Regions from separate parts of the Homo sapiens genome. Here regions 1 and 2 are each linked to region 3. Evidence: promoter capture Hi-C in 16 types of primary human blood cells and fetal thymus (Javierre and others, 2016). All regions are on one chromosome and are shown on one strand. The core of a region is centred on a gene start or on the middle of the fragment in contact, and the rest is flanking DNA. Distances in the headings are between cores, read along the strand shown.

Region 1 (2,700 bases), core at 38-2,537, 1.0 Mb before region 3:
CTTTCTATGAAGAGGTTGTTAATGATGAAATGATGGAAACCATTTGATAATGTGGTAAATATTAGAAGCTGGTTTAGCAGATAGAGGGCAGTTTGTGGAGCAAGATAGCTTATGAGGCAGAACAAAGCTTTTCACCGAATATAGAATTTGTAAATGGAATAAATGACAAATTGGCACTATTCATAATGTAAAGGTAGCGCACATCCCTATCAGGACATTTCACAGTTTAAAGGAACATGTAGTGTGTGTATGTATTTTTAACTTAACAAATTTTGTCAAAACCTACACTTTTGATTTTTGGGATTCACCCCCTTTGTATTCAGTGTTTTTCTTGTTAATTAGAAGGAAGTATGATGACCAATATTTTACAGTTTTTAAAAAGGATTAAAAAGTTTAAATTTGGCGGGGCGCAGTGGCTCATGCCTGTAATGCCAGCACTTTGGGAGGCTGAGGTGGATGGATCACGAGGTCAGGAGTTCGAGACCAGCCTGACCAACATGGTGAAACCCCATCTCTACTAAAAATAGAAAAGTTAGCCGGGCATGGTGGTGTGTGCCTGTAATCCCAGCTACTCAGGAGTCTGAGGCAGGAGAATCACTTGAACCCAGGAGGCGGAGGTTGCAGTGAGCCAAGATTGTGCCATTGCACTCCATAGCCTGGAGAACAGAGCAAGACTCTGTCTCAAAAAAAATTTTTTTTAACTTATATACAGCAAATGCACTTTTTTTGGCATATAGTTCTTGCCACTGTAGGTTCTTATAACTTCCTACATAGATAGTGTACAGAAAAATTCCAACATGCCAAATCGTTTCTTTGTGCCATCCCTTTGTGTTGAGACTCTGCCCCCACTGCTATCCCCATGAGCTGCTGATCTGTTCTTTATGCCTATATTGTTTGCCTTTTCTAGAATGTCACACAAATGGAATTAGTATGCAGCCTTTTGAGAAGGGCTTCTTTCACTTAGCATAAGGATTTGAAGTTTCCATGTTTTGTGTGTATCAGCAGTTCATTCCTTTCTGTTGCTGAGTACTATGTTATTGTGTGGATATGCCACAGTTTATCTAGTCACCATTTGAGGGACATTTGGGCTGTTTTCAGTTGTTTGGTGGTTATTTAAAAAAAATCACATTTGGATTTTTTTGTGTATATAGATTTTTCTTTTCACTTAGCTAAATACTTGGGAGTGGGATTTCTGGGTCATAGGCTGAGTGTATGTTTATTTTTGTAAGAAACTGCCAAACTGTTTTCCAGAGTGCCTGTACTATTTTGTATTTCTACCAGCAATGCATGAGAGTTTCTGTTGTTGTCCATCCTCACCAGCACTTGGTATTGTTTGCATTTTTAATGTTAGTGGTATCTCAGTATAGTTTTAATTTGCATTTCTGTAATGATATTGAGCATCTTGTCATGTGCTTACTTGCCATCTGTATTTCTTCTTTGGTAAAGGGACTAATTTTTTTTGCTGATTATCGGGGTAGTTTGTTTTCTGATTGTTGAATTTTGAGAGTCCTTATGTATTCTTGATACAAGTCTCGTATGAGATGTATGATTTGCAAATATTTTGTTCTGGTCTGTGGCTTATCTTCTCAATTCCTTAACAACGTCCTTTGCAGGACAGTTTTTTTTTGTGAAGTTCAATATGTCAGCTTTCTTTTTTATTTTTGAGATAGGGTCTTGCTCTGTCACCGAGGCTAGAGTTTAGTGGTGCGATCATGGCCCACTGCAGCCTTTACCTCTCACACTTTCAAACAATTCTCCCACCTCAGCATCCCAAGTAGCTGGGACTACAGGTACGTGCCACTACACCTGGCTAATTTTTAATTTTTTTTTTGTTTTGTAGAGATGGGGTCTCACCAAATTGCCCAGGGTGGTCTTTAACTCCTGAGCTCAAGCATTCCTCCTGCCTGGGACTCCCAAAGTTCTGGGATTACAGGCATGAGCTATCATGCCTGGTCAGTTTTTCCTTTTGTGGATAGTGCTTTTAATGTTGTATATAAGAAATCTTAGCCTTACTCAAGTTTGCAAAGATTTCCTCCCATGCTTTCTTGTAAGAGTTGTATAGTTTTACATTTTTACACTTAGGTCTGTGATTCATATTGAGTTAATTTTTATATACAGGATGAAGTTTAGGTTGAAGTTCTTTTTTTTTTGTATATGGATATCCAATTGTTATGACATCATTTGTTGTAATAACTGTCATTTCTTCATGGATCACACCTTTGTTGAAAATCAGTTGTTTATGTTTGTTTTGGTCTGGTTTCTGGACTCTCTAATCTTTTCCACTGATCTGTCTATCCTTTCACCAATACCAATTGTCTTGACTACTGTGGCTTTGGAGTACATCTTAAAATCTGGTAATGTGAGTTCTCCAACTTTGTACTTTCTCAAAATTGTTTGGGCTCTTTAGTTCCTTTACTTTTTCATGTAAATTTTAGAATTAAGCTTATCTCTACAAATAATACGGCTGGGTTTTGATGGGAGTTGCATTAAATCTACAGGTCAATTTGGGGAGAACTGATATCTAACACTTAAGAGTTTTTTTTATCTTTCTCATCAGAGTTTTGTAGTTTTCAGCATACAAATCCTTAATATTTTGATTTAAAATCTTTTACAGATTGGATTATGGAAGTGGGAAGTGAAGAAGAAAAATGGGAGAAGCTGGATGCAGAATTTGATCACTTTGTGGTTGATATGAAGCCC
Region 2 (2,700 bases), core at 198-2,697, 1.0 Mb before region 3:
TACCATATCAGATTTAGGCTAATTTTATATAAATTATATTTATCTTTTAACTCATGTTGGGTCATCTAAATAATACATGTGTTCATACCTGTAAGAAAGAACTTGGAGAATAATTATCCTATTTTAAATAATTATAGAGGACTATAGTTTTTACATCTTTGCTTTAATGAGATTTTGCCATGGGTTATTTGATGCTAGATTTTAGTTTGGAATGAAGATTCTAATTATGGTCCTGCCCTTATGGAAAATGTGACTTGCTTTATAATGATCCTCTTTATGATATGGTTTTCCAGGAATGCATTGTGGCAAAAAGCTGGGATTCTGTATGTCTTACCCCAATATAGCTAGCATTTCATTTGTGTGTGCAGTTTAATAACATGGCCAGCAGATGGTGATCAAGTATAATGAAAACCCACTTGTGGTTGAAGAAGTTAATCTATGTGAGCAAACATTTTTCACTTTAAAAATATTGATTTAATTTTTTAGTCTGGGCATGCAAAAGAATCTTTTTACTTTGTTAAACTCCACTTTTATATGTAAATGATACTATATAACATTATAAATTGCTCCTCCTGAAATTGTTGGATAATTTAGCAAGGAGCCAATCAATACCTTTCCTTCTTAGTAAAACCTTCTTAAATATTACCTGCCAAAAGTACATTCATTTTATTTGTGAATAACCCTGATGTTTGGGCAGATATGTGTTCTACAGCAGTACTGTTCAATAGAACTTTCTGATGGTAATGTTCTATAGGCGGCACTGTCCAATACAGTCGCCACCAGTAAACGTGACTATTGAACACTTGAAATGTGGCTGGTGTGATTGAAAAACTGAATTTCTAATTTTAATTAACTTAAATAGCCACATGTGATTAGGGGCTACTGTGTTGGGCAGAACAGTACCAGATCCGAATCTTCTGCTTGGCCATTGCAAAACCTGACTGACCAGATGGAGAGCTGGTGGCCTGTTCTCTGTCTCGGTGGGGATGTGGGGTAGGAATGGGGACTAGGGCTTGGGTGCTGGTGCATAGAAACTGGCTCTGCCACATGGGAGACCTTTCTTCTGTGCTTACTTGCATTTCACGGGCAGCTCCCTTTTTTGGTGATGATCACCCATGATCAACATCTAGTTGCTCTTGGTCAATTTCTGCTGTCAGAGGAGCTCCTACTAACAAAAAAGAAACTGTTTATAAATAAATATACACACACACACACACACACACACACACACACACATATATGTGTGTATATATATATATATTTTTTTTGAGATGGAGTTTCACTTTGTTGCCCAGGCTGGAGTGCAATGGCACGATCTCGGCTCACCACAACCTCTGCCTTCTGTGTTCAAGCAATTCTCTGCCTCAGCCTCCTGAATAGCTGGGATTACGGGCGCCTGCCACCACGCCCAACTAATTTTTGTATTTTTAGTAGAGACGGGGCTTTACCATCTTGGCCAGGCTGGTCTTGAATGCCTGACGTTGTGATCCATATGCCTCGGCCTCCCAAAGTGCTGGGATTACAGGCATGAGCTACCATGCTGGCCATTTTTTTTTTTTTTTTTTTGAGATAGAGTTTCGCACTGTCGCCCAGGCTGGAGTGCAGTGGCGCGATCTCCCCTCACTGCAACCTCTGCCTCCTGGGTTCAGTGATTCTCCTGCCCCAGCCTCCCGAGTAGCTGGGATTACAGGTGCCCGCCACCACGCCTGGCTAATTTTTGTATTTTTGGTAGAGACGGGGTCTTGCTATGTTGGCCAGGGTGGGCTCCAACTCTTGACCTCAAATGGTCCTCCCGCCTTGGCCTCCCAAAGTGCTGGGATTACAGGCGTGAGCCACTGTGCCTGGCCAAATCTGACTAATTTGACAATCTTTTATACAATGGACACTTGCTGATAGACACTTAACCTTGTACTCTAGAAATAGGACTGCTACATAAATGAGAAGTGAAAACTGCTTGTTAGAGTACACAATAAAATACAACATTTCACACATATAAAACCTCTTAGCTACTCATTAATTTTCAACATTAATGTGCTAATTAAATGTCACTCTTAGGTATTTACTAAGATGAGGCCAAGTGGCAACTATTTGTAACTGGGATGGAGCAGCTTTGAAAATAATGGTCCTTGGGCCATTTAGGCTTTTTTCTCCCCCAGTAAGTCAGCTTTCTGACAATTTAGTCACATTTCTCTTTTTCTTTCTTTTAATGAGTGAGGCTTTGTAATGACATCTTTTAATTTCACAAGTTTCTGTTTGTCAGGTAATATTGAACAGTTTGGGTTGTCCTTTTTAATAAACAAAAATGGATAACAGCTTATATTTTAACATTTAATTTTAATGAAATTTAAATATTGAGTGTTCTAAGTCAGAGATATATTAATAAACAATGATTTAAATGTACGATTTTTAAATTTGTTTTTATTTTTAAGTTTTAAAATCAAGTGTGCCATTTTAAAGTAAGTAGTTGGAAATACGAAGTCTTAAAGTGTTTATGGATCTGTGCTCACCTTTTTCTAGTTTTGTTAAGCATCTCATTTTTTTTCATTTAGTTTTCTTTTTCTTTCTAATAAAGTTCTTTTTGAAAAATTAAAATAAGTATGTTGTGGATTTTTGGAAGTTATTTTCATTTTTTAATTTTCAGCATTATTTGATACTTTACTGGATTATTAATTGTTATTTATTTTTATGTTTCATAAGTAT
Region 3 (2,700 bases), core at 79-2,578:
CAGTTTCTTCTGCTTTTAGTAACTGGTATCTGCAATACAGGCTCTCAGGGTTCTTTCTGAGTGAGACAACATTCAGCCTGTCTGCTTTACAGATGATACCCACACCTCTGCTACCCGGAAGATGAGCACGAGCATCTTGAAACAGGTGGACCAAATGCGACCGTCTCGGGGTCCCCAGGACTGTCCAGGTTTTAGCATTGAAAGTCCTGGGCAAATCAGGACAGCGGTCACTGACTATACAAATTTGCTGAGCTCCAGGGGCTCAGGGAGAGCTCAGCTTGTCACAAAACATTCAACTAATTCTACTCAACAAGATAAGCCTAAGAAGATGGACACTACGCTGTGAAAAGTGGCTACGGGTGGGAGGAAGGACAAAGATGTGACCCGGGACCTAATCCTCTGTAGATCTCATCGGACAGTGATTATACCAGAAGCTCAGAACTAAATGAACCACTTTGTCCCCAAACACATCACCCCACAGGTGCATTCCACCTCCCACATGTCCATCCTGTGTGCACACCCTGTGCCCGGTCACTTTGTCTGGGAAAGCATTCGCAAGGGAAGCGAAAAGGTTGGGACTTCTGCCGCCAGCGCAGACAGCAGGAGATGCACAGATAGACACACTCAAATGAGGGCTCTCAGGGCATTGTAAATGGGGTGGCCCTTTATCCTACAAATCACCCCGTTTTCATGGTCTATGTGTACACACACACACACTTTAAAATAGTGCAGTTTGGGATCAGAAAAAAAAGGCAAAAATGGCAATGTCACATCTGGTCGTCTTACAACAATATCAGCAGGCTGTCTCAAATCTGCCACAGCCTGAACTGAACCTGCCTCTCCCGAGTAACAGGTTGTTTTCACCTCCCGCAGACCATCAGCGCTGGCTTCAGATTCTCCACTACAGGCAGGGCACACGAAAACCTAATTATTATAGCCATCAATATCGACACACACAGCAAAGAAGTCACTTAATAAAATCGAGCAGCACAAATCGACCCAAAGGGGTGCTCTCCACTCCTGCCCCTCTTGTCCTCGGACGCTTCGCAGATGCGGTCCCCCGCCCTCCTCCCAGGGTCCAGGTGAGGGGCCAGGGTTACCTTTTGGAGAAATGCCATCCTCGGCCTGTACTGCTGGCCTTGGTGTCGGATTGTCATCCTGGCCCCTGGATGGATTCACAGCCAGAGCACCAGTGGGAGACAAGAGGAGAAGCCCCCCAAGTTCGAAAGGCAGCCTGGCTCGCCCCAGCCCTGGGCGTCGACGGGGAGGCGGCTGGGCGGGGAGGGCGCGGGCCGGGCCCCCCTGACTCTCACTAGGCGCCGCTGACTTGGAAAGCAGCTGGAATCCGCGCCAGCCAATCCGCGAGCGGCGCCGCGGGCTCATTAGCATGCGCTGCGCGGGCGCCCACCTGCCGCCAGGGGGCGCTATCCGGCCCCCGCCGGGACCCCGCGGAGCAGCAGGTGAGACCCGCAGGGCAGGGCCCCGGGAGGAGAAGGAGGAGGAGGACCTGGCGGGAGGAGGAGGAGGACCTAGCGGGAGGAGGAGGAGGACCTGTCGAGAGCAGCGAGCCTTTTAACTTGGGGCGGAGTTATGCACAGAAGTGACACAAAGAGCCCTCACTAATACAGCGCGGTGGAAAATACGGACTTTCCCATCCCAGCTCTGCCACTAACCAGCCGGCAGCCTTGGGCAAGTTCCTTACAATCTCTAAGAATCAATGTCCTTCACTCAAAAGTAAAAATTGAAAAATGGGATCATAATATCGACCAGAAAAGGTTGCTATACCATTTTAATGAGGAGATGTGTAACACAGTGCTTGGCCCTCAATAAATGCTTAGAAAAAAAAATTAGAGGTGGCGATTTAATGACCCAATAGCAGAGGAATTGCTAAGATGTGGGTTTAAAAAGAGAGAGCAAAGAAGTGAAGAAGGAAGAGAGGAAGGTTGTAGTCCTCACCGGGCTAGCTGTCTGGATGAAGCGAATTATATTTTACTTCTCTGATTCTTAGTGTTTCGGTTAGTTGGTTGTTGGGTTTGTTGTTGTTTAACTTTTTTTTTGAGACAGGGTCTTGCTCTGTCACCCAGGCTGGAGTGCAGTGGCGTAATCATGGCTCATTGCAGCTACAACCTCCCAGGCTCAAACAATCCTCCCACCTCAGCCTCCCCAGTAGCTGGGGCTACAGGCACGTGCCACCACACCCCGCTAATTTTTACAAAAATTGTTTGTGGAGAGGGAGTTTCACAAACTCCTGGGCTCAATCGATCTACCCACCTCGGCCTCCCAAAGTGCTGGAATTACAGGAGTGAGCCACTGCAGCTGGCTGGTTTGCTTGTTTTAATAGACTTTATTTCTTAGAGCAGTTTTAGGTTCACAGCACAATTGAGCGGAAGGTATAGGGACACGTCATATATCCCCTCTCCCCACGCACGCACAGCGTCCCCCATGATCAACATCCTCCACTGGAGTGGCCCATTTGTTACAATTGATGAACCTACCTTGACAGCTCATTATGTTAGCGTTTTCATCTTGAGAAAAATGCAAGGATGAAGCCTCTAAGTTATTATCAAGAGCCTTTCTGCTTTGTTATATAAAGCACTTTCTCTTAAACATACTCGATGGTTATTGAGTGTAGCAGATAAAATGTTTAAGTTGGAAGAAAACAAGAAGGCCTTTACCTTAGGAAGGCACAGTCAACCAATG

What was found. Contacts are between HindIII fragments. The CHiCAGO score rates a contact against its expected background, and 5 or more counts as called.
Region 1: a contact is called between a fragment that was not itself captured here and the fragment with the promoter of RGS9 in region 3, in 3 of 17 cell types (fetal thymus, activated CD4 T cells and naive B cells). The highest score is 5.5, in fetal thymus.
Region 2: a contact is called between a fragment that was not itself captured here and the fragment with the promoter of RGS9 in region 3, in 7 of 17 cell types (M1 macrophages, naive B cells, naive CD4 T cells and 4 more). The highest score is 7.7, in M1 macrophages.

What each region holds. Positions count from the first base shown.
Region 1 is chr17:66,183,222-66,185,921 of GRCh38, reverse strand. CEP112 (centrosomal protein 112) reads left to right here. Exons shown (of 27, transcript NM_001199165.4): 2 at 2,615-2,700. The coding sequence starts at 2,623. Among named protein-coding and RNA genes, the nearest start is that of CEP112, 7.6 kb to the left of the region's middle. The HindIII fragment of the contact is 2,315 bases long and covers 130-2,444 here.
Region 2 is chr17:66,163,423-66,166,122 of GRCh38, reverse strand. All of the region lies in intron 4 of CEP112 (centrosomal protein 112), which reads left to right. Among named protein-coding and RNA genes, the nearest start is that of CEP112, 27 kb to the left of the region's middle. The HindIII fragment of the contact is 3,636 bases long and covers 1-2,700 here.
Region 3 is chr17:65,135,998-65,138,697 of GRCh38, reverse strand. It overlaps RGS9 (regulator of G protein signaling 9), which reads right to left and starts at 1,328. Exons shown (of 19, transcript NM_003835.4): 1 at 1,101-1,328. The coding sequence starts at 1,157. RefSeq lists a silencer at 1,139-1,638. The HindIII fragment of the contact is 12,932 bases long and covers 1-2,700 here.